Linked DNA regions of Homo sapiens: regions 2, 3, 4 and 5 are each linked to region 1. Evidence: promoter capture Hi-C in human tissues and cell types (Jung and others, 2019). All regions are on one chromosome and are shown on one strand. The core of a region is centred on a gene start or on the middle of the fragment in contact, and the rest is flanking DNA. Distances in the headings are between cores, read along the strand shown. Region 1 holds the start of SPINT1 (serine peptidase inhibitor, Kunitz type 1). Region 2 overlaps OIP5 (Opa interacting protein 5). Region 3 holds the start of EXD1 (exonuclease 3'-5' domain containing 1). Region 4 has its middle 50 kb from the start of INO80. Region 5 holds the start of INO80 (INO80 complex ATPase subunit).

The links. The method cuts DNA at HindIII sites, captures the fragments that hold promoters and counts their contacts. A contact is called where the count stands out against the background at its distance.
Region 2: a fragment that was not itself captured here is called in contact with the fragment with the promoter of SPINT1 in region 1 in 2 of the 25 tissues and cell types used here (H1 embryonic stem cells and spleen).
Region 3: the fragment with the promoter of EXD1 here is called in contact with the fragment with the promoter of SPINT1 in region 1 in 2 of the 25 tissues and cell types used here (lymphoblastoid cells and mesenchymal stem cells).
Region 4: a fragment that was not itself captured here is called in contact with the fragment with the promoter of SPINT1 in region 1 in 1 of the 25 tissues and cell types used here (spleen).
Region 5: the fragment with the promoter of INO80 here is called in contact with the fragment with the promoter of SPINT1 in region 1 in 3 of the 25 tissues and cell types used here (mesenchymal stem cells, ovary and spleen).

The regions. Positions count from the first base shown.
Region 1 is chr15:40,841,423-40,846,337 of GRCh38, forward strand. SPINT1 (serine peptidase inhibitor, Kunitz type 1) reads left to right here and starts at 2,626. Exons shown (of 11, transcript NM_003710.4): 1 at 2,626-2,764; 2 at 3,068-3,607. The coding sequence starts at 3,133. It overlaps SPINT1-AS1 (SPINT1 antisense RNA 1), which reads right to left and starts at 3,102. Exons shown (of 2, transcript NR_146468.1): 1 at 2,757-3,102. RefSeq lists silencers at 2,064-2,246, 2,408-2,637, 2,718-2,777, 3,068-3,307 and an enhancer at 2,199-2,770. The HindIII fragment of the contact is 27,771 bases long and covers 1-4,915 here.
Region 2 is chr15:41,314,849-41,319,763 of GRCh38, forward strand. It overlaps OIP5 (Opa interacting protein 5), which reads right to left. Exons shown (of 5, transcript NM_007280.2): 3 at 4,810-4,915. Among named protein-coding and RNA genes, the nearest start is that of OIP5, 15 kb to the right of the region's middle. The HindIII fragment of the contact is 5,957 bases long and covers 8-4,915 here.
Region 3 is chr15:41,227,965-41,232,879 of GRCh38, forward strand. It overlaps EXD1 (exonuclease 3'-5' domain containing 1), which reads right to left and starts at 2,793. Exons shown (of 12, transcript NM_001286441.2): 1 at 2,515-2,793. CHP1 (calcineurin like EF-hand protein 1) reads left to right here and starts at 3,304. Exons shown (of 7, transcript NM_007236.5): 1 at 3,304-3,485. The coding sequence starts at 3,419. RefSeq lists a silencer at 2,818-2,877 and enhancers at 2,998-3,067, 3,088-3,147. The HindIII fragment of the contact is 9,013 bases long and covers 1-4,915 here.
Region 4 is chr15:41,164,115-41,169,029 of GRCh38, forward strand. It overlaps the pseudogene CIBAR1P1. Among named protein-coding and RNA genes, the nearest start is that of INO80, 50 kb to the left of the region's middle. The HindIII fragment of the contact is 6,382 bases long and covers 1-4,915 here.
Region 5 is chr15:41,114,072-41,118,986 of GRCh38, forward strand. It overlaps INO80 (INO80 complex ATPase subunit), which reads right to left and starts at 2,209. Exons shown (of 36, transcript NM_017553.3): 1 at 1,902-2,209. RefSeq lists enhancers at 1,071-1,851, 1,477-1,526, 1,607-1,656, 1,707-1,786, 1,852-2,631 and 2 more and a silencer at 1,887-2,156. The HindIII fragment of the contact is 26,384 bases long and covers 1-4,915 here.

The sequences.
Region 1 (4,915 bases), core at 1,376-3,875:
CATCTAGGTTGATTCCATGTCTTTGCTATTGTGAATAGTGCTGTGATGAACGTACAAGTGCATGTGTCTTTTTGGAAAAACAATATATTTTCCTTTGGGTATATACCCAGTAATAGGATTGCTGAGTTGAATGGTAGTTCTAAGTTTTTGAGAAATCTCCAAGCTGCTTTCCACAGTGGCTGAACTGATTTACATTCCCACCAACAATGTATAAGCGTTCCCTTTTCTCTGCATCCTCACCACCATGTGTTTTTGTTGTTGTTGTTGTTGTCGTTTCAAGTAACATTTATTGAGAACTCTTTGTGTCAAATGCTTTGTCTGCATTAACTCAATTAATCCTCATAAAAAACCTTATGAAGCCCCACTTCCCATTCAAGGAGACTAAGGCAGAGAGATCAAATAACTTGCACAAGGCCACACGAATAGTAAGTGGCAGATGCAAGAGCTAAATCCAGTAGTCTGAGTCTGAAGCTCACAAGTTCAACTTCTCTACAACCTGTCACCACTCTTCGTTCACTACCTGACCTTGATGGAGTCAGTGAACCTTTCTGCAAAGTGGAAGCAATTTTTAGAGTTGTCCTGAGCATTAGCAATCCTATGTCAAGTGCCTGGAGGGAACACAGTGGGCATCTCAACAAATGGTGGGTGCTCACCACTTGAAAGTGAGTTATGGGTTTAAGCAAGTTGAATCTGAGGTGAGGGCAGAACTTCCAGATGAAGTCAGAATTGCAAAGGCCATAAAGCCCAGGGTTTAAGCACTGAAGCCATGGAATTGGCCTGCCTGGGCTCCAATCCCTACTCTGCCGCTTCAATGCTGAATGACCTGACAAGTCAGTTTACCTGTCTGAGCCTGTTTGCTCATTTGTAAAATGGGGCTAAAAATACTACCTCCCTAGGTTTGTTTTGAGTATAGGGTAATATGTGGGCAGTGCTTAGGAACAGAGTTTGGGCATTGTCAGTGCTGAATTCATGTTGGTTTTTATAATGGTGTGTATAATGGATGTAATGATAAATTTATGGTGATGTAATATTACCATAAGGTAATATTTTCCTGTATTAAGATTCTTGAGGTCAGGCACAGTGGCTCACGCCTATAATCCTAGCACTTTGGGAGGCCGAGGTGGGTGGATCACCTGAGGTCAGGAGTTCAAGACCAGCCTGGCCAAAAAGGTGAAACCTCGTTTCTACTAAAAATACAAAAATTAGCTCGGCGTGGTGGTGCCCACCTGTAAGCCCAGCTACTTGGGAGGCTGAGGCAGAATTTCCTGAATCTGGAAGGCAGAGGTTGCAGTGAGCCGAGATCGTGCCATTGCACTCCAGCCTGGGTGACAGAGCAAGACTCCGTCTCAAAAAAAAAAAAAAAAAAATAAATAAATAAATAAATAAAGATTCTTGAATGTGTTAGCCATAAGGGGAAATCAAATCACAACAAAACCCTTTCTTCCCAGTGACTGCACAATCATTTTCTTCATTCCCAGCATACCACCATTGTTGTATATCCACCAGTGTGCCAGGGTCTGTGGATAAACCCTAAACATCCAGAGAAGGGGAGACAGGCCCCAGATTCCCACCCCAACACGCATCATGTGAGCAGCTGGAGGATGTTGCAGTTCAGCAAAATCCAAGGGTTGGCCACAGGATCTGCTAGGCAAAGCTGCTCTGGATGAGAAACTGGGAAGAATGTTCCCATTGGTTTGGGGGTTGTTAAGCCATCAGGAAAAGGTTTGGAATCTGTATTTTAAGAGAGCATGCTATGTGATTCCTTCCTCCAGCCCTGCCTTCATCTGTCTTTCACCTGTTCAGACCCTTGCCGTAGAGAATGGTCTCTTAAGAGTTTTTTACTCAGGAGGAGCAATGAGCTTGGCTTCAAGGAGTCCACTGTTTCGTGAAGGGCATTAACTCAGCTACTTGGTGAACTGGAACCTCCAGGCTTCCAAGGATGACATTTCCCTGGAAGAAAGTAGCCAGCAGCGTCCCCTTTGTGAAAGAGAGGAAGCCTGGGCTCCAGGGAAGGGGGCAACAGTCCAATGAGCCATAGCAGGGAATGGACCGAACTGTACATACAAGATGAGGAGGGGCCTCGAACAACAGGGAAGCCCCGTGGAGCACGCAGGGGAGCCTGGACGCGGGGAATCGCCTCCGTTTCTCACCCTGACAGCAGGGAGGGCTTCCCGGAGCTGACAGTGAGGCAGACATCCCGGATCCCTGTTATCACAGGTGCAGCCACGCAACTTTTGGGTTACCTTCCCGCCACGAAATGGAAATGATTTCCTGAGGGCCGGAAAGATCATTTGCATCGGGCCTCAGGTCTGGGGCTGGGAAAGCAGGCCCCGGCCGGAAAGGAAGACTGGAGGCCGCCGCCCCAGAGGCCGGACCCTCGCGTCCCGGCCGCATCCCCTCCCGGCTGGGTATGCGCTTCGGGCGCGGGGCTCCCTCGCGAGGCTGGACTGGGTGGAGCCCGAGAGCCCCTCCGGGGAGCTGGCTGCCGGGGAGGCACCGGGGCTGCGGGGCCGCGGGGCGGGCCGGGCCTGGAGCTCCGCGCTAGAGGCGGCCGCAGCGCACCGGGCGTGGGCGGGGCCGGCAGCGCAAGGGTGAATGTCGGCCCCGCCCCGACGGCGCTGACTCAGTTTCACCAGAAACCAGGGGGAGAAGGCGGCCGAGCCCCAGCTCTCCGAGCACCGGGTCGGAAGCCGCGACCCGAGCCGCGCAGGAAGCTGGGACCGGAACCTCGGCGGACCCGGCCCCACCCAACTCACCTGCGCAGGTAACCCGGGCCCCCGCGCGCAAGGCCGAGGCGCAGGCGGAGCGGGCTGGAGCATGTCCGGCCCTTTGTTCTGCGCTCGTGCGTGTGTCCGGGTACTTGAGCTCCCTAGCGGTCCGCCTGTCCGTCTGTCTGGCTGCCGGGTCCCTGGAGGGCGCGTGGGAGGGCCGGGCCCGTGCGCCCTCTTCGATCCTGGGGTGCTCCGGTCCCTCCTCCCCGCCACTTCCTCCCGGCCGGCCCGCCTCCTCCAAAGTCTCCCGGGCTGATCAGGTGTGTCTCCTCCTCTGTCCCCTCCCTTCTTCTCAGGTCACCAGCACCCTCGGAACCCAGAGGCCCGCGCTCTGAAGGTGACCCCCCTGGGGAGGAAGGCGATGGCCCCTGCGAGGACGATGGCCCGCGCCCGCCTCGCCCCGGCCGGCATCCCTGCCGTCGCCTTGTGGCTTCTGTGCACGCTCGGCCTCCAGGGCACCCAGGCCGGGCCACCGCCCGCGCCCCCTGGGCTGCCCGCGGGAGCCGACTGCCTGAACAGCTTTACCGCCGGGGTGCCTGGCTTCGTGCTGGACACCAACGCCTCGGTCAGCAACGGAGCTACCTTCCTGGAGTCCCCCACCGTGCGCCGGGGCTGGGACTGCGTGCGCGCCTGCTGCACCACCCAGAACTGCAACTTGGCGCTAGTGGAGCTGCAGCCCGACCGCGGGGAGGACGCCATCGCCGCCTGCTTCCTCATCAACTGCCTCTACGAGCAGAACTTCGTGTGCAAGTTCGCGCCCAGGGAGGGCTTCATCAACTACCTCACGAGGGAAGTGTACCGCTCCTACCGCCAGCTGCGGACCCAGGGCTTTGGAGGTGAGGAGGGTGCCAAGATGGATGGGTTTGGAGAGACTCAAAAAAGGGACTGGTTATGGGGTCCTAGGGGAGACGAACATCAGAGAGGAGTTAAGGAGAGTTCACTTTTTTTTTTCTTTTTCTTTCTTTTTTTTTGCGACGGAGTCTCGCTCTTGTCGCCCAGGCTGGAGTGCAATGGCGCAATCTCTGGTTGCTCACTGCAACCTCCGTCTTCCACGTTCAAGTGATTCTTCTGTCTCAGCCTCCGGAGTAGCTGGAACTACAGGCACCCGCTACCAGACCCGGCTAATTTTTTTTTTTTTTTTTTTTTTTTTTTTTTTGGTACAGACGGGGTTTCACTATGTTGGCCAGGCTGGTCTTGAACTTCTGAACTCAGGTGATCCACCCACCTTGGCCTCCCAAAGTGCTGGGATTATTTCTACCTGAAGCCCTCCTTAGAAGTAGGCAGTACAGCCGAATCAAGCCTGGTGATCAATGGGGTGACAGATGTCACAGCCAGATCGCCTTCACATCGGTAGTAGGCAGTACAAACAGTAAACAAATGAAAGGGGACATGAGTAGGGAGGGCAGGGCCCAGGCTCTGGCTCCTGAACTCAGGATGTTCAGAGGTGATGGGCTGGTGCTCACAGGGAGGCCTTTGGCTCTGGGCTGTGTGTACTGGAGGGGAGAGGAAGTCCCCAGGACTCCTGACCTCTGGCACTGATAGGCTGATTGAAGGAGTGAGCTGTCTGGATGGTCTGGTGACTAGAAAGGCACCTTGGCCAAGCACTGGTCTGGGCACACCGATGCCCTGTCAGGTGAGCCTGGCCATAGTCTCCTCCACTGGCTGGACTTGGGACTGCTTAGCATCTCTCTACCCCCTAGGAATGCATTGGCCTTTTGGTGGTCCAGGAAGACTGCCAGATCCGAGACTAGAAAACAAGCCCAGTCTGCGGTTGATCCAAAGGGAGAGAAGTGATGTTGTAGGCACAGAAGCCTAGAGGCTCTGGGGTGGGGGATGAGGAGGGTTGTGGGGTGAGTCAGCCTGTTGGTATGTATACCTAGTAGGGAAGGGATGTCAGCTGTCCAGGCAGGTGTGTGTGCATGCGCATGAGCCAGACAGGGCTCTCCCTGCTTAGAATCTGGTAGCCAAACCTTGTTTACTTCCATAGATAAAGGCAAAGCGGAGGCCAGGGCTCCTCCTCTTTCTTCCCCGGACTGAACTGTCTGCTGGGATCAGGGCCAGTCCAGAGCCTTGGTTCCCCCTTTCTCTCTACCTGCTGTTCTGGCCAGGTGGGGCTCCAGGGCAGGGGTAGGTCACCTCTCATA
Region 2 (4,915 bases), core at 1,736-4,235, 470 kb after region 1:
CTTGAATTCCTGACCTCAAGTGATCCGCCTGCCTCAGCCTCCCAAAGTGCTGGGATTACAGCTGTGAGCCAACATGCCTGGCCAGCGAAACCCCATCTCTACAAAAAATACAAAAATTAGCCAGATGTGGTGGCATGCCTGTAGTCCCAGCTACTTGGGAGGCTGAGTTGGGAGGATCACCTGAACCCAAAAGGTTGAGGCTGCAGTGAACCATGATCGCTCCAGCCTGTGTGACAGTGAGACCCTGTCTCAAAAAAAAAAAAAAAAAGAATAAAAAAAAGATTAAGAAAATTTATGCTGGCGGGGCGCAGTGGCTTATGCGTGTAATCCCAGCACTTTGGGAGGCCGAGGCGGGGGGATCACCTGAGGTCAGGAGTTTGAGACCAGCCTGGCAAACATGGTAAAACCCCATTTCTAATAAAAATACAAAAATTAGCAGGCTGTGGTGGAGCGCACCTGTGGTCCCATCTGCTTGGGAGGCAAGGCAGGAGAATCACTTGAACCTGGGAGGCGGAGGTTGCAATGAGCTGAGATCACACCACTGTGTTCCAACTTGGGTGACAGAGCAAGACTCTGTCTCAAAAAAAAAAAAAAAATTTATGCTGATGAAAAGGGGGAATTTTCTTGTGTTCCCATACTCTCCATATCCTTTTCCTTCATGTTTAGGATGCTATCATCAATAGATGTAATGACTGTAATTGCAGCAGCCATCCCGAATCCAAGAGGAAAAGGCCAAAGTTTCTACTTAATCAAAAAGAATGTCCTGACCTTTTATCCAACTCATTTTAAAGATTAAGAAATTAACCAAAATCCCATAATGCTTTTCAAATTTATGTTAAAAATATGTTACTAAAAGCTTACTGCCCTAACAAAAATGCAATTATTGCTTCTCTAGAACATTTACTTTTGTACTGATTTCTAAAAAAGATGTGGGATTACTAACAGCACACATTTACAGTTTTTTTTCCCACTTTAAAGTTAATTCTAAATAGAAATTGCTTAAGAATCTAGAAATTGGTGGCGCAGTGGCTCACACCTGTAATCCCAGCACTTTAGGTGGCCAAGGCAGGAGATCAAGACCATGCTGGCTAACACGGTAAAACCCCGTCTCTACTAAAAATACAAAAAAATTAGCCAGACATGGTGGCGGGCGCCTGTAGTCCCAGCTACTCGGGAGGCTGAGGCAGGACAATGGCGTGAACCTGGGAGGCGGAGCTTGCAGTGAGCCGAGATGGTGCCACTGCACTCCAGCTCCAGCCTGGGCGAAAGAGCAAGACTCCGTCTCAAAGAAAAAAAAAAAGAATCTAAAAATTGAGGCTGGGCATGGTGATTAATGCCTGTAATCTTAACATTTTGGGAAGCCCAGGCAGGAGAATCACTTGAACCCAGGAGGTGCAGGTTGCAGTGAGCTGAGATCATGCCATTGCACTTCCAGCCTGGGTGACAGAGTGAGACTCCGTCTTTAAAAAAAGAGAATGATCAATCCATCTCAGGATCTCAGGTATATATTTTGTGTTGGAAATTTGCAATGAAGAACAAATGGTATACCTAATGCACAGTGAGCAACCCATGGTAAAGGACTGGCTGATAAGTTTTATTGTTTAGTCAACCATAACTCAGCTAAAAACATCTATCTAAGCATAAGAAATGAGAAAAAGCGGCCGGGCGCGGTGGCTCATGCCTGTAATCCCAGCACCTTAGGAGGCCAAGGCGGGCGGATCACGAGGTCAAGGAGATCGAGACCATCCTGGCTAACACAGTGAAACCCCGTCTCTACTAAAAATACAAAAAATTAGCCAAGCGTGGTGGTGGGCGCCTGTAGTTCCAGCTACTTGGGAGGCTGAGGCAGGAGAATGGTGTGAACCCAGGGGGTGAAGCTTACAGTGAACCAAGATCACGTCACTGCACTCCAGCCTGGGCGCCACAGCAAGACTCCATCTCAAAAAAAAAAAAAAAAAAAAAGACATGAGAAAAAGGAAACCTTTTAGTTTTATGAAAGGAAAATAAGCTTTTGAGTTAAGACATGCTCAAATCTCAGCTCTTCCACCTCTTTGAGCCCTAGTTTTCTTAAACTATATTAAGAACTCAGTGATATAAGCATAATGCCTACATAAACTAGGTTGTCAATGCTTGTTTTTGTTTTTTAATGGTCAAGGAAAGACTTCTAAGGATGTTTCAGTTTCTTGTAATAAGTAAAAAAGCTTAAGTTAAAAGTGCAATTTATTAGGAAAATAATGAAATAGCCAATGTAATTCATGAGAAAGGATAACCAGTAGGGTAGTTTTTCTGACACTATGAGGCTACATGATCATTATTTTTACTTTTCTCTGTGTCTGCTTCATGTTTTACTGCAGAGAAGACTTCCCTGCAGCTACATGCATCACATGGGAAATAGCTATCCCATACATAGAGCTTTCACTTCCAAACTTCAACACTAGTACTATCTACACGTAACTGGTATTTCTGGGCCCTTGTTTCAAATTCCTAAGGTAGAAAACTGGTTGGCTTAGTTTGGGTCAGGTATCCATTTTTCTTTTTTTTTTTTTTTTTGAGACAGAGTCTCGCTCTGTTGCCAGGCTGGAGTGCAGTGGCGCGATCTTGGTTCACTGCAACCTCTGACTCCCCGGTTCAAGTGATTCTCCTGCCTCAGCCTCCCAAGTAGCTAGGATTACAGGCATGCGCCACCATGCCCAGCTAATTTTTTTTGTATTTTTAGTAGAGACGGGGTTTCCCATGTTGGCCAGGATGATCTCGATCTCCTGACCTCATGATCTGCCCACCTCGGCCTCCCAAAGTACTGGGGTTACAGGCGTGAGCTACCACGCCCAGCACCGTTTTTGGTTTTTAAGAGACAGGGTCTTGCTCTGCTCCCCATGCTAGAATACAGTGACACAATCATAGCTCACTGTAACCTTGAACTCCTGGGCTGTAGCTATCCTCCCACCTTAGCCTCCAGAGTAGCTAGGACTACAGGCATACACCACCATACACAGTTAATATTTTAAATTTTTTGTAGAGACAGAGTCTTGCTATGTTGCCTAGGCTGGTCTCAAACTCCTAAGCTCAAACAATCCTCCAACTCAGCCTTCCAAAGTGCTGAGATTACAGGCATGACCCACCATGCCTGGCCAGGTATTCATTCTTGATCCAGTACCTGGGAGTGGGAATCACACATGATACAAATCACACATGATACAAATATACAAGGCCCCACCTATTAGAGGGAGAGAGAGGCTGGGCACAAACCCAAAAGGTATCTACTGCAACATTATTTTGCAAAAGCTTGCCTTCTAGAATGTTCTTTTTATCTTTTATTTATTTTTATTTTTTCTGAGACAGAGTCTAGCTCTGTCACCCAGGCTGAAGTGCAGTGGCTTGATCTTGGCTCACTGCAACCTCCGCCTCCTGGGTTCAAGCAATTCTTCTGCCTCACCTCCCGAGTAGCTGCGACCACAGGCGTGTGCCACCACACTTGGCTTATTTTCGTATTTTAAATGGAGATGGGGTTCCACCATGTTGGCCAAGCTGGTCTCGAACTCCTGACCTCAGGTGAACCCCCGACCTCAGCCTCCCAAAGTGCTGGGATTACAGGCGTGAGCCACTGCACCCGGCCCATAAGGGAGCAGTTTGAGATGGGAGGCTTCACCATGTTGCCTAGGCTGGTCTCAAACACCAAGATTCAAGTGATCCTCCTGCCTCAGCCTCCTGGGTAGCTAGAATTACAGGCACACACCACCACATCTGGCAACAAGTTTCTTTAATGAAAGAATACCCTCTGAATTTTCCCATGGTATGACTTTTAAGATATGGTATGATAAGACATGGAAGATAATCATAATGTTATAAGATTATATTTTGGTCCCACTGCTTTTTTTTTTTTTTGTCACCCAAAGTGGAATGCAGTGGTATGATCACAGCAAAATGTAACCTTGAACTCCTGGGCTCAGGTGATCCTCCCACCTCAGCCTCCCAAGTAACTGGGACTATAGGGGCACGCCGCCACATCCAGCTAATTTTTTAAAATTTTGTATAAAAAAAAAACAGGAGTCTCACTATATTGCCCATGGAGGTCTTGAACTCCTGCCCTCAAGCAGTCCTCCCACCTTGGCCTCACAAAGCATTGGCATTACAGGCGCGAGCCATCACACCTGGCCCACTGCTATCTTTTTGTCAAAGACAGTGCCTGACTTTAGCATCTTTTTGGTACAAACACTTTGTCTTTTTTCTTTTTTTTTTTTTTGAGACAGAGTCTTGTTCTGTCACCCAGGCTGGAGTGTAGTGGTGCAATCTCAGCTCACTGTGCAACCTCCACCTCTCAGGTTGAAGCAATTCTCTTGCCGCAGCCTCCCAAGTAGCTGGGATTACAGGTGTGCACTAGCATGCCCAGCTACTTTTTTTTTTTTTTCCTTTGGACAGAATCTCACTATGTCTCCCAGGCTGGAGTGCAGTGGCGTGATCTCACAGTGGCGTGATCTCAGCTCACTGCAGCCTCTGCCTCCCAGGTTCCAACAATTCTCGTGCCTCAGCCTCCTGAGTAGCTGGGATTACAGGCGTCTACCACTACACCTGGCTAATTTTTGTATTTTTCGTAGAGATGGGTTTCACCATGTTAGCCAGGCTGGTCTCAAACTCCTGACCTCGAGTGATCCACCGCCTCAGCCTCCTAAAGTGCTGGGATTACAGGCATAAGCCACTGTGCTCAGCCTACTTTGTCTTTCCTGAAAAACCTTTTAAAATTTATTTGATGGACTTTGTCTCAAAATAAATAAAATAAAATGTATTTGATGATCAATATCTAAGTCTACTCACCACACCATTTTGTCACTGGAAAGGCAGAAGTGACCTCTCAAGGCAGCCAGGGCAGCATGGGTAGAATACAGATGGAAACCAACGGGAATCCCACAAGAACCACAGA
Region 3 (4,915 bases), core at 1,543-4,042, 390 kb after region 1:
ACTTGAACCCAGGAGGTGGAGGTTGCAGTGAGCCAAGATCGCGCCATTGCACTCCAGCCTGGGAGACAAGAGTGAAACTCTGTCTCAAAAAACAAAACAAAACAAAAGAAGGCGGTACTCTTACATTCTTTACCATAATACAGTAATTTTTTAAAAGTTAATTTAGAACTATTCTGTTATTTAGATGTCCTTGTATTTAGAAACTTAGATAAGTATTCTTCTATAGTTTTTTAAATTTAAAAGCTGTATACTTTTGCCACACTAGGAAAATTCAACCAGTGAATTTTGCAATTTAACCATAAAAACATTGATGAAATAACTAGAGCCTAAGTCAACTAGGAAGAAGGTGAGATGTTACATACAATTTTCGGTCAAATAAATAACCTATATTTTTACATTTTAAGGTCTATCAAGTGCTTATACAAATATTACTTGATATAACAACCATAACCTAATTTACAAATGAAGAAACTGAAGTTTAGAAGGTTAAGACACCTGCCCAAAGTCACACAGCTAGAAGGTAATGCAATCTGAACTAAGACCAGGCCTCTAGGGTAGGATGTTTGTAGTTTAGTGCAAGACCAAGTCTTATGCATCCAAACAGAACATAAAACAAGTCATCAGAGAGTCTAAGAAAAACCATTCTTTAAGTTAATCCAACAGGCAAAAGGAGAATTTTTAAAGAAAAATACATAAAACTGGAAAAAGAAAACAGCCCTTAATAGAGGCAAACATTATTTTTATTTTATTTTTGAGATGGAGTCTCACTCTGTCGCCAGGCTGGAGTGCAGTACCGCTATCTTGGCTCACTGCAACCTCTGCCTCCCGGGTTCAAGCAATTTATACTTTTAAAAGGTACCCAAGAAAGGAAAGTTTGTGAAACACCTGGAAAATAAGAGAATTAGAGAAACATTAAAGAAAAAAAAATTAAAGTCAGAAAAAAATACTAACATGAAGCAAAGAAAGCTTTGACTGGAGACAGCTGCAAACACTAAGATTCAAGATTAGGAAGGAAAAAAGTAAGGTCAGCATCAAGAGATGGGCTTCAAGGCTGACTGAGAAAAGGGACATTCATGGGGCTGACAAAATTTTCCTATCACAGCCATATTCCAACATACAAAGCAGCTCCAGTGATTTAGCTCTTAGACGGGCATATCCAAAATGTTACTGAGTACAAAGGACAACATCACTAGGTTAGACAAGTGCACGACAATCATAAAAATAACTCTAAGGCCGGGCACGGGGACTCACGCCTGTAATCCCAACACTTTGGGAGGCCGAGGCGGGTGGATCACCTGAGTTCTGGAGTTTGAGACCCGCCTAGACAATATGGTGAAACCCTGTCTCTACTAAAAATACAAAAATTAGCTGGGCGTGGTGGCACGCGCCTGTAATCCCAGCTACTCAGGAGGCTGAGGCATGATAATCCCTTGAACCCGCCTGGAGGTTGCAGTGAGCCGAAAATGCACAGTGATCAGGCCATTGCACTCCAGCCCGGACTCTGTCGCAAAAAAACAAAACAAGCCAGGTGCGGTGGCTCACGCCTGTAATCACAGCACTTTGGGAGGCTGAAGCGGGCAGATCACCTGAGATACGGAGTTCGAGACCAGCCTGACCAACATGGAGAAGCCCTGTCTCTACTAAAAATACAAAATTAGCTGGACACGGTGGCGCATGCCTGTAACCCCAGCTACTAGGGAGTCTGAGGCAGGAGAATCGCTTGAACCCGGGAGGCGGAAGTTTCGGTGAGCTGAGATGGCGCCTTTGCACTTCAGCCTGGGCAGAAGAGCAAAAACTCCGTCTCAAACAACAACAACAACAACAAACAAACAAAACTCTAGTTCTTCAAACTAGAACCTCAGCTTGCAGGGAACGTGTGGGGCCTCAGGCTAAGCTGTAAAGCCTTAGGTAACACTTAAAACTAGTAACTTAAGTTGACCTGGGAAAGCCTGCTACGACAAAAATATCCTGGTACTTGGGTACTAACAGCAGTCAGAATTCGGTTCTTCCTTATCTTATACGTGTTCTAACCAAACAGGTGTGAAGGGGTAAGGCAGGTGAAGCAGTAAGAACTGGTTCACCTGAGAGTAGGCACTAATTTAACGGGTGGCTTTTACCTTTTTTTTTTTTTTTTTTTGAGACGGAGTCTTGCTCTGTCACCCAGGCTGGAGAGCAATGCCGCGATCTCGGCTCACTGCAACCTCCGCCTCCCGGGTTCAAGCGATTCTCCTGCCTCAGCCTCCCGAGTAGCTGGGATTACAGGCACGCGGCACCACACCCGGATAATTTTGTATTTTTATTAGAGATGGGGTTTCTCCATATTGGTCAGGCTGGTCTCGAACTCACGACCTCAGGTGTTCTGCCCACCTCGGCCTCCCAAAGTGCTGGGATTACAGGCGTGAGCCACCGTGCCAGGCCTACCTTTTTAATCAAAACAAACAATACACCATGAGAATAAAATGCAAAATTTCTCATTTTTAAGACAAAATAAGGAACTTCAAATAAATGGCGGACCATAAGCTAGGAATTCACTGTCCTCCATCGTTAGGGCTTTTTCCTCCGAAGGAAGTTTGGGAAATCTGGATCCTAATTTCAGCCAAGTGGTGCGTTCCTCGAACTTCAGTCTAGAACTAAAAGAAGAGGGGCTGCAATGAAGGAAGAAGTCTCGGGACGCTCCACGCCACCCGGCGGCGGTTATCAAATCACAGGCTGAAAACCTGGAGAAAGGTCCGCGACGCCGGGGACACACGCCGCAGAGGCGACGCCCGCCCGGCCCAACGTCCAGTCTCGTCTGTTTCCCGAGGAGCCAATCAGCACGCGGCCCCGAGGCCGGCTCCCCAGCGCCCCCTGCGGCCGGGAGGAGGACGGCAGCCAGGAAAGATGAAGAGCGCGTGCAGTCCCCGAAGGGTACACCCTAGGGTTCCCCCCCACGCGAAGTTTCTCTCCGCAATCCGTGCCACCTATCGAGTAGGATTCCTAGTGTTCGATTCCTGTGAGAAAAGGTAGACTACGCTGCCTGTCGCAGGTTAGTTTGTTGTAAAACTGTTGGTCAATGACGTTGCCCTTTTAATTGCGTCGTTAGCGACCGAGTGGCATCGCCCCTTTAAGGCCGGTGGCAGCTGCGGTTCCGGGGGCGGGGTCCGTCTTCAGCAGGACTTGGGCTGGAGCTGGGCTGATTCATTCGGGGCTGGAACTCGAACGCTGACGTTGGCTCCTGAGCCGGGCGCTGCCTCGCGCCTGATTGGCGGGTCCTCGGGGCCGCCCTCCCCAGCGCACCACCCCTGGGTTCCCTCCCGGGTCCGCAGTGGAAACACTGCCCTCTCCCTTCTTGACCCCTAGCCCTTCCTTCCCTCCCTCCTTCCCTCCTGTCGCCGTCTCTTCTGGCGCCGCTGCTCCCGGAGGAGCTCCCGGCACGGCGATGGGTTCTCGGGCCTCCACGTTACTGCGGGACGAAGAGCTCGAGGAGATCAAGAAGGAGACCGGCTGTGAGTTCGGGTTGGGGGTGGGAACGCCGGGCGCCTCAGGCTGGCCTCACAACCAAGGGCGGCTGTCGCTAAGGTCTGGAGCTCGGGTGCCTGTGAGGTTGGGGGGTCCTGGGCAGCCTCCAGGTTTGGGGACCGAGAGCTGGAAGACCTGTTCTTCCAGCTGCAGCTTCCTGGAGCGGGGCTCTAGCTACTGTGGGGCTGTCCTTCCCTTCAAAATCGGGACTCTTGATCACTCGTAGAGCGTCGACGCCCCCCTTTTCTGCACCCTGCCCATCAAAGTCCCCGAACTCCTTTCCTTTCTGTTGCCTCGCACCACCCTTCCCTATGAAGAGGCATCCTGAACAGTAGGTAAAGCCCGAGAAGCAAATTCAGGAACTCGAGATGGATTCTGTAGAAAATCCGTTTCTGGGTAAGGACCTAAAACCTCTGACAACTATGGGAAATTACAAACAAGTTCTTGTCACAAATTGGGAAAACCACCCAGAAAGCAAGACCGTGTAGTAAGGCTTTGGGAGACATGACCCGATGCCTGGAGACCTTTAAACAATCAGGGGTCTGGGATTGTGAGACTTCTTTCAATCTGAACTTCTAGAGAAAAAACACGGATACTGTGACCACCAGTTTTTTACTTACACGACGATACTTGCTGTCCTAATCTCATATATGTATTGATTTCTACTATGCTGGTGTACTTTTTTATTCGCTATTGAAATTGGATGTGCTCCAAAAATCTCCGTGTGAATTTGTACTAGGAACTGATTTTTTTTTTTTTTTTTTTTGAAACGGAGTCTCCCTCTGTCAACCAGGCTGGAGTGCAGTGGCGTGATCTCGGCACACTGCAACTTCCGCCTCCCAGGTTCAAGCAGTTCTCCTGCCTCAGCCTCCCAGGTAGCTGGGAGTACAGGTGCCTGCCACCACGCTTGGCTAATTTTTGTATTTTTGGTAGAGATGGGGTTTCACTATGTTGGCCCGGCTGGCCTCGAACTCCTGACCTCAAGTGATCCACCCACCTCGGCCTCCCAAAGTGCTGGGATTACAGGTGTGAGCCACCGTGCCCTGCAGAACTGATTTTTTTTTTTATAGTCCAGTCTCTTCCTCATTAGTCTGAACAAAGGAGCAAAAGGACTCGGGATTCTGAAGCGCTGTAAAATACCATCATAACTTTGAATAGTCCTTGATAATGCAATGTATGATACAATTGTATTGATGCATACAATATTTTATCTTTTCAGTAAACCTTTATGATTCTTATTGAGTTAATGAAGGATGTAGCACCTGAGCTCTGTCTCTTCATCATACTTGTCTTTGATAATGACATGACCAGTAACTCACTCCGGCCCATATGCAGATAGTACTGAGGAGTGCTATGGGGAACTACAGAATTTTTCAGGCCTGTTTAAGTGCTGTTCTCTGCTTTGTGACAAGTTCAA
Region 4 (4,915 bases), core at 1,757-4,256, 320 kb after region 1:
ACATTGATGAAGATGAAGATTTAGAGGTTTTCCGAAATTCTCTGTATGCACCAGATTATTCATCTTGTTTAGATACTGTAAGAGCGAATTCAAAGTCACCTCTTCAGAGATCACTGTCAGCTAAGTGTGTATCTGGAACAAGACAGGTATCCACTTGTCGACTAAGAAAGGATCAACAAGCAGAAGATGATGAGGATGAAGAGTTAGATGTTACAGAAGAAGAAAATTTTCTTAACTACACATTTCCATTTTCATCATAAATGACATAAAATCCACAATGACTAAATTGTAGAACTTTATACTCACTTTGATATGTTAAGCCTCAAAGTGAAGTCCAACTGGAAACAGAAAAATATTTAAAGAAAACTTATGCTGACCAAAAATGAAGTCTTTAAAAAAATATTGCATACCAGTCATTTCAACATCCTACCTAGTGTTACATGATTTTTGTGTAAGTGCCTTTTTTTAGAAGATGGTGTATTTCAAAGTATTTCATATTAATGTACTATATCTACTTGAAGTTCCAATAGTGCATTATGACAGAAACCAAAAGATCTAACAATTCTGCTTAGCTTTTTGGTTAAGACTCCATGCTTTCATTACCAGAAAAGGGTCTTATGTAGTCATTCTGATTACATGTAATTCTATTCCATGAAGTATTTTTTTTTTTTTGACGGAGTCTCGCTCTGTCGCCCAGGCTGGAGTGCAGTGGCGGGATCTTGGCTCACTGCAAGCTCCGCCTTCCGGGTTCACGTCATTCTCCTGCCTCAGCCTCCCGAGTAGCTGGGACTACAGGCGCCCGCCACTGTGCCCAGCTAATTTTTTGTATTTTTAGTAGAGACGGGGTTTCACCGTGGTCTCGATCTCCTGACCTCGTGATCCGCCCGCCTCTGCCGCCCAAAGTGCTGGGATTACAGGTGTGAGCCGCCGTGCCCGGCCTTCCATGAAGCCTTAAGAAAAAAAATTTTTTATAACTTTCCCTAAAACTTTATCATTTGATAAGTAAATTTACTTTTCAAGAAGGGTATAATCAAAGAGTAAAGATAATGTGACACTAAGATATCAGTGTTTTATGAATACACATAAGGCATAAATTTCAGCTGTAAAAAAGCCACATTCAGTCTGACTCTGGTTTTAAAACAAAACTTCTGTCATAATTATAGATGATACTGCAACTTTTGGAAGGCTAATTTGGTGGAATGTTGCCTCATCATAGAACACCACAGATCATTAAAAATTATATAAAAATTTTACCAAGCTACCATATAGTTAATAAAAGGGTATACAGTCACTTTTATTTTTGAAAATATGAAACATGGAGACTTTCAGTGTATATGATGCTTCTCTTTTGGTAAGGAATTATACTTTTATTTCATGGATCCCAGGCAGGCATATCAAAGTTATGGAATTTATAAAATCATTTGGGATAATTAGAAAATTCAATTATTCATAACAGAAAAATAAAGACTTTCTCAAAAGCAAAAAAAAAAAAAAAAAAGCAGCAAATACTTATTATCTCCCAGTTTCTGGGGGGTCAGGAATCCAGGATCAGCTGAGCTGGATGATTCTGGTTCACGTTCTCTTATAAGTTTGTGGTCAAGCTATAGGCTGGACTGTAGTCACCTGAAGGCTTGACTGGGGAGGATCTACTGGAGAGGAATGACCACTGTTTGGTTGTGGGAGATGAAGACATAGTCCCTCACAGACTGTCGGCTGGAGTCCTTGGTTCTCTGTCGGGCCGAATCCTCCCAAAAGTATTCTCCCAACATGGCAACCAGAACAAGTGATCTGACAGAAAGAGTGCACCCAAGATGGAAGCCATAGTATTAGGCCTTTTAGAAGCAAGGAAAGTATATACCAAGATTCTGGGAAGATGGCAGGGTGGTAACGGTGGCATACTTTCTAGATCTTCTCAAATCCCCATGTAAAAACAGAATAATTAGAGGACAAAACTCCAAACCCATGAACAATATTTACAACATACTGGGTGATGAAGTAACTCATAAACCTGAAATTGCAAAGAGGTGGGGACAACCCAAGAGATACTGACAACCATGTGGGAAAAACAGTAGAGGGAAGCAATGGGGTATCTGACAGACCTAAGAAGAAAATTGGTATTCACTAGAGAGTGTTAAGCGCCAATTTGAGAACAACAGCTGAAACCAAAAGGGGTTTTTTCACTCCAATAGCAATTGCATGAAAGGATCCCACAGTCTGAAGGTATACCCAGGCTTGAACAGTCTAGACCCTATAAGCTCTGTATAATAACCAACCATGGATCCCTTCCAGGACAAGTTCACACACTGGGGAGAAACTTCTAGAAATGGAACAAAAACTGAGCAGGGTAGGGAAAACAGAAAGGAAAGAGAGATAAAAGTACTAGGGAAGAAGACAAAGCCAAGAAATCTCAGAAAGCAAATAACTGTGATTTTAACACTACACAAAAACAACAAAATAGGAAGCTCTGTGAAGTTAAAAAATTAATTGAGCCTAGCCTGATGTGGTGGCTCACACCTGTAATGCCAGCACTTTGGGGAGCCAAGGCAGGAAAACTGATTGAAGCCAGGAGTTCTAGACCGCCTGGACAACATAGTGGGAACCTGTCTGCCCCCGCCAAAAAAATTTTTTTTTGAGACGAAGTCTAATTCTTTCACCCAGGCTGGAGTGCAGTGGCGTGATCTCAGCTCACTGCAACCTCCACCTCTGGGTTCAAGTGATTCTCCTGCCTCACCTCCCCAGTAGCTGGGATTACAGGCATGTGTCACCATGCCTGGCCCAAAGAAACCCCTTTTTTTTTTTTTTTTGAGATGGAGTCTTGCTCTATCACCCAGGCTGCAATGGAATGGCGTGATCTCGGCTCACTGCAACCTCCGCCTCCCGAGTTCAAGCGATTCTTCTGCCTCAGCCTCCTGAGTAGCTGGGACTACAGGCGCATGCTACAGTGCCTGGCTAATTTTTGTATTTTTAGTAGAGATGAAGTTTCACCATACTGGCCAGGCTGGTCTCGAACTCCTGACCTTGTGATCCGCCTGCCTCGGCCTCCCAAAGTGCTGGGATTACAGGTGTGAGACACTGCGCCCAGCCCCAAATTTTTTTTTGAAAACTAGCTGGGCATGGTGGCACATGCCTCTAGTCCTAGCTACTTGGGAGGCTCAGGTGGGAAGATTGCTTGAGCCCAGGAAGTCAAGACTGCAGTGAGCAGTGATTATGTCACTGCACTCCAGCCTGGGTGACAGAGTGAGAGTGTCTCAAAATAAAAAAAATAAAAAATAAATAGATGAACACTCTAATATATTGGTGCATAAAAAGCTAAAATGCATTAAGAATATTATGTAAGATGGCCGGGCAGGGCGTCTCATGCCTGTAATCCCAGCACTTTGGGAGGATCACTTGAGGCCAGGAGTTGGAGTCTAGCCTTGGCAGTATAATAAGAACCCCATCTCTAAAAAACAAACAAAAAACTATACAGCATATTTTAAAAATCACACTGTATCTGAAAATGGTGATCCAGAATGACCAACACCAAAACATAGTCTAACAAAATCATTTGACTTGAAAGAAAAAGAGGCCAAGGTGGGCAGTTCGCTTGGGTCCAAGAGTTCGAGACCAGCCTGGGCAACATGGCGAGACTCTGTCTCTACTAAAAATACAAAAAAATAGCTGGGTATGGTGGTGCACGCCTGTGGTCCCAGCTACTGAAGTGGGAGGATCACTTAACCCCAGAGGGTGGAGGTTGCAGTGAGCTAAGATTTCGCCACTGCACTCTATCCTGGGTGATAGAGTGAAACACTGTCTCAAAAAAAAAAAAATTATATCAGTCGGGCGCGGTGGCTCACGCCTGTAATCCCAGCACTTCGGGAGGCCAAGGCAGGTGGATCACCTGAGGTCGGGAGTTCAAGACCAACCTGACCAAGATGGTGAAACCCTGGCTCTACTAAAAATACAAAATTAGCCAGGCGGGGTGGTGCATGCCTGTAATCCCAGCTACTTGGGAGGAGGCAGGAGAATCGCTTGAACCCAGAAGGCGGAGGTTGTAGTGATCTGAGATCAAGCCATTGCACTCCAGGCTAGGCAACAAGAGTGAAACTCTGTCTCAAAAAAAAAAAAAATTATATCTTAGTAAAACCGTTAAAAATAATTTGTGGTTGATATAACTTACAATGAGAGTTCATCAAACTACAAATGAGGTTTCTGGTTTACATAATACTATTCTGATTTTCTTCCTATTTGTCTTCTCCTTCTTGGTCTCTGTGTGTATCTCTTCCTGTTTACTTTTTTTTTTTTTTGAGAGGGAGTCTCGCTCGTCGCCCAGGCTGGAGTGTGCAGTGGCGCAATCTCGGCTCACTGCAAGCTCCGCCACCTGGGTTCACGCCATTCTCCTGCCTCAGCCTCCCGAGTAACTGGGACTACAGGTGCCCACCACACCCGGCTAACTTTTTGTATTTTTAGTAGAGATGGGGTTTCACTGTGTTCGCCAGGATGGTCTTGATCTCCTGATCTCGTAATCCGCCCACCTCAGCCTCCCAAAGTGCTGAGATTACAGGCGTGAGCCACTACACCCGGGCTTTTACCTTTTTTTTTTTTTTTTGAAAAGGAGTTTTACTCTTGTTGCCCAGGCTGGAGTGCAATGGCGAGATCTCAGCTCACCACAACCTCCGCCTCCCGGGTTCAAGTGATTCTCCTGCCTCAGCCTCCTGAGTAGCTGGGATTACAGGCATGCACCACCACACCCAGCTAATTTTGTATTTTTAGTATAAAGACAGGGTTTCTTAGTGTTGGTCAGGCTGGTCTCAAACTCCAGACGTCAGGTGATCCACCCACCTCAGCCTCCCAAAGTGCTGGGATTACAGGCATCAGCCACAGCGCCCAGCCTTGCCCTATTTTAGGAGTGTGATCTTTCTCATTCCTTTTCTCT
Region 5 (4,915 bases), core at 959-3,458, 270 kb after region 1:
GCCTGACCAACATGGTGAAACCCCGTCTCTACTAAAAATACAAAAATTAGCTGGGTGTGGTGGCGGGCGCCTGTAATACCAGCTACTCAGGAGGCTGAGGCAGGAGAATTGCTTGAACCCGGGAGGCGGAAGCTGCAGTGAGCCGAGATCACGCCACTATACTCCAGCCTGGGCGACAGAGCCAGACTCCGTCTCAAAAAACAAAAAAAAAAAAACATTCATTTTAAAGTCTAGAAGGTATGCAACTTTTACCACACATAATGATCTCAAATTGTTTTATAGGAGGAGGAGCTTGGAAATTTCAAACATAAAATGCAACTAGAACAGAATATTATTTGGCATTAAAAGCAAATGAGGCCATGTGCGGTGGCTCATGCCTATAATCCCAGCACTCTGGGAGGCCAAGGCAGGCGGATCACTTGAGGTCAGGAGTTCGAGACCGGCCTAGCCAACATGGTGAAACCCCGTTTCTACTAAAAATACAAAAATTAGCCGGGTGTGGTGGCAGCCGCCTGTAATCCCAGCTACTGGGGAGGCTGAGGCACGAGAAGTGCTTGAACCTGGGAGGCGGAGGTCGCAGTGAGTCGGGACCCCGCCACTGCACTCCAGCCTGGACGACAGAGCGAGACTCAGTCTCAAAAAAAAAAAAAAAAAGGAATTAAGTACTGATACCTGCTACAACACGGATGAACCTTGAAAACACCATGTTAAGTGAAACAAACTAGGCAAAGAAAGATACATATGTTTCTTTTTTAGGTAAATTTAGGCAAAAAATATATTAATAGTTACCTAAGACTGGAGGGAGGGGGAATGGGGAGTGACTGCTAAATGGCTTCTAGAGATTCTCTTTTAGGGTGATGAATTAAATAGTGGTTGATGGCTACAGAATTTAATAAATATAGTTTCAGAAAATTACTTAATTATACGCTTTAGAAAGCGGAATTTTTTGGTATTTGAATCATATTTCAATAAAGCTATTATTTAATTTAAGTTGCCACTGAAAAGCCACAATAATTTTGTTGTGGAGGAAATAATGAAAGTCACTGACTGGAAAAGTAACCTGTGACGTTAGCCAGGTCAACCTCCAAATTCCTTCCCCCATTTCTAACAAGTACATCAAACTAGAGACAGTGTGTGAATCAAAGAATTCCAGGCACAGTTGGCTGTTAACTAGAATAGTAAGTGGCTGCCTAGGTTCTGTCATTCCTAAACTGTAGGGGGCTTCTAGCCTCGGAGATTACGGAAGTAGTACTTTCCATTAGCGAGCTCAAGAAGGAATGTCAAAATAGGATGACACTTTCCTAGTCGCTATGTAAAAACCTAAAAAACCAGAAGAGGTGTCATCTAGACACTCCCAAGTCTATGCAGGTGTCAGCCTGCCCCCACCCAACACCAGCCAGCAGCGTGCACCATTCAACCGTATCTCAACTTGCCCCTTACAAAATGACACACTAACAAGCCCTTAGATCTCATTTGTTTAAAATGACAGATACACAACCTTCACGGGGTTCCCACTCAAGGCCTTCCAGCCTCCGCCCTGCCCCTGCCCACCCCCAAACCTACACACGTGTTAGCCCGACACCGCCCCACCGGGTCCCACGTGCACCTGGTCTAACACACTCCCCACGTGTGGGCGCCCCACGGGCTTCCTCAGGTGGCTGAGGTCACCGCATGACCCCGGGTCTCCAGAGATATGAAACGGGAAGGACAAGGCCCTAGTCCCTGAGGTCCCAACCCTGCGGGGAGTGTCCACACCCATCCTCCATACTAACCCCAACAAATCCAAGGGCCGGGGGCGACGGCCCCTTTAAGACGCGGCCCAGTTGTCGCCCGCAGAGAGGGGCGCAACAAGACCTACACAACCCCCACTCCGTTCGCCCGCCCACGTCTAGTTGCCTCACCTCGGGCCGCCTGGCCCCGCCGCCGCGACGGCGGCGGAGGGGGGGCGGGGTGCGGGCGGGGTCCGGAGGGGGGGGTCGCCCCGCCGACGGTGGAGCCGCGGTTCGCTCTCTGAGGCCGTGGGACGGTGACTGCGTTGGGCGTGGACGCTCCTAGCTCGCTCCCTCCGCGGCTCCTGGGACCCCAAGATGGCGGCGGCGCTGAGGCGGCTGCGGGCGCTGGGCCGGCGGCGGCGGCGGCCACTTTCACTCACTGAGAGGAGCGGAGCAGGGACACGGGGAGCCATGGCGGGGGGGAGGAGAGGCGCCATAGCCAGGCCAGAACAATCGAGCCGCTACACGGGTGGCTTACCCCCACCCCGCCCACACTCACTGCTCGTCGCCTGCCCGTGGCCACCCGTAGTGCCGCTGCCGTCGGCCTCGCGCAGCTCGCACCCCGCCGCTGCCACCTGACGCCCCGTGCGAACCGGGGTTCGAGGGGAGACCCTGATCCATGCCATCTGAGTACAGATTAGTCGGGACTGGGACTGGCGAAGATTGCCGAAAGGCGGCGGGGAGGAGGAGGAGGATGTCATCGCTACAGTGAGCAAGCAGATCTCGCAGGAGAAAATGTCGCGAGAGCTTTCCAGGCCCGCAACCGCCGATGCAAGGTTACTTTTCCCGGAAGTAACGTCAATCGAAACCGCCCGGGATCCTGGGATATTTGTTCCCGCAGGCTAGAGGTGGGAAGGTGCAGCCAAGTTGATAAGATCTCTTTAGGGGAAGGAGAGGCTCGCAGCTGGTATTTTGTTACTAGTTTCTGACCCCTTTGGATGGGGTTGTAGATTGTCGGGGAAGTGCCTGGTGTGTAGTTCGACTACTATACAGTAATTAGTTTGGGGCTCCCATTTAGACTCTGGGAGCAAGAACGCTATAGGTTGGGTAGGACAGCATAGTTAGATAAGATGTCTACGTGAAGGTTGTGGGATACAAGGACTTGGGAACACGCAGACCTGTTATCGGAAATGCCAGCCTGTTCTCACATCCACACAGTGTGCCTCTGAAAAGCGAATAATTGCTTTTACCTGTGCCAATTCTACAATTTGAGTCCACTGCCACCCACATTTACTAAACTTGGGGTCTCGCTATGTTGCCCAGTCTACTGGGCTGGTTCCCAGTCTCCTGGCCTGAAGTGATCCTCCTGCCTGGAAGGATCACCTCAGGCCAAACGTCTCAGAGCAGTCCATTAGACTGGTCAACATAGCGAGACCCCGTCTCTACAAAAAAGACAACATAATAAATGTAATCGACCCAACTACCAGGATGTGTGGTGAGAATTGCCTAGGGTAAGGCCTAGGTGTAGATAAGAATTAGAACTTACTGAAAGTTAAATATGCTGTTAATTCAGTTCCTTTGGGTCTCATTCTTTAATCCATTTTAACCTGGCCCTTAGCATTTAACTAAAAAGTACTTTATTAAGGTCATCAAGTAGCCTTCTTGTGCTGAGTTAACTGACCTTTAAAAAGTTAAATTTGTGTCAGGGTGCAGTGCCACACGCCTGTAATCCCAGCACTTTGGGAGGTCAGGTGGTCGAATCACCTGAGGTCAGGAGCTCGAGACCAGCCTGACCAATATGGTGAAACCCCATCTCTACTAAAAATACAAAAATTAGCCGGGCGTGGTGGCGGGTGCCTGTAGTCCAGCTACTTGGGAGCCTGAGGCAGGAGAATCGCTTGAACCTGGGAGGCGGAGGTTACAGTGAACCGAGATCGCACCATTGCACTCCAGCCTGGGCAGCAAGAGCGAAATTCCGTATCAAAAAGAAAAAAAAAAAAATCCATCTCAAAAAGAAAAAAAAAAAGTTACATTTGCAAGCCAAGCGCGGTAGCTCACGCGTGTAATCCCGGCACTTTGGGAGGCTGAGGCGGGTGGATCACTTGAGGTCGGGATTTTGAGACCAGCCTGGCCAACATGGTGAAACCTCGTCTCTACTGAAAAAAAAAAAAAAAAAAAAAAAAAAAGATTAGCCGGGCGTGGTGGCGGGCACCTGTAATCCCAGCTACTCGGGAGTCTGAGGCAGGAGAATCTCTTGAACCTGGGAGGCAGGGGTTGCAGTGAGCCGAGACTGAGCCACTGTACTCCAACCTGGGACAGAGCGAGACTCTGCCTCAAGAAAAAAAACCAAGAGTTAAATTTGCTTGAATGCATGGCCAGGCACGGTGGCTCACGCCTGTAATCCCAGTACTTTGGGAGGCCTAGGCAGGCAGATCACGAGGTCAGGAGTTTGAGACCAGCCTGACCAACCTTGAAACCCTGTCTCTACTAAAAATACAAAAATTAGCTGGGCATGATGGCGCGCGCCTGTAATCCCCCCAGCTACTCAGGAGGCTGAGGCAGGGGAATCGCTTGAACCCCGGAGGCGGAGGTTGCCGTGAGCGGAGATCTAGCCATTGCACTCCAGCCTGGGCAACAGAGTAAGACTGTCTTTAAAAAAAAAAAATGCTTAAAGGCAAAAGTATGATATATAATTGGCCCTTATATCTGCGGGTTCAATATCCGTGGATTCAACCAACAGCAAATCAAAAATACTCAAAAAATAGGCTGGGCTCAGTGGCATACACCTGTAATCCCCAGCACTTTGAGAGGCTGAGCCAAAGTGTCACTTGAAGCCAGGAGTTACAGATTGGCTTGGGCAACAAAAGAAGACCCCATTTCTACCAAATGTTCAAAAAATAAATAATAACTCATTTCAAAATACACTATAATTATTTGCATAACATTTGCATTGTATTGGGTATTATAAGTAATCTAGAGATGATTTAAAGTATATGGGAGGATGTGTAGGTGATATGCAAATGCTACACAATTTTGTCACACACGCCTGTAATCCCAGCACTTTGGGAGGCCGAGGCTGGCAGATCACGAGGTCAGGAGATCGAGACCATCCTGTCTATCGCGGTGAAACCCCGTCTCTACTAAAAAAATACAAAAAAATTAGCCAGGCGTGGTGGCAGGCGCCTGTAGTCCCAGCTACTCAG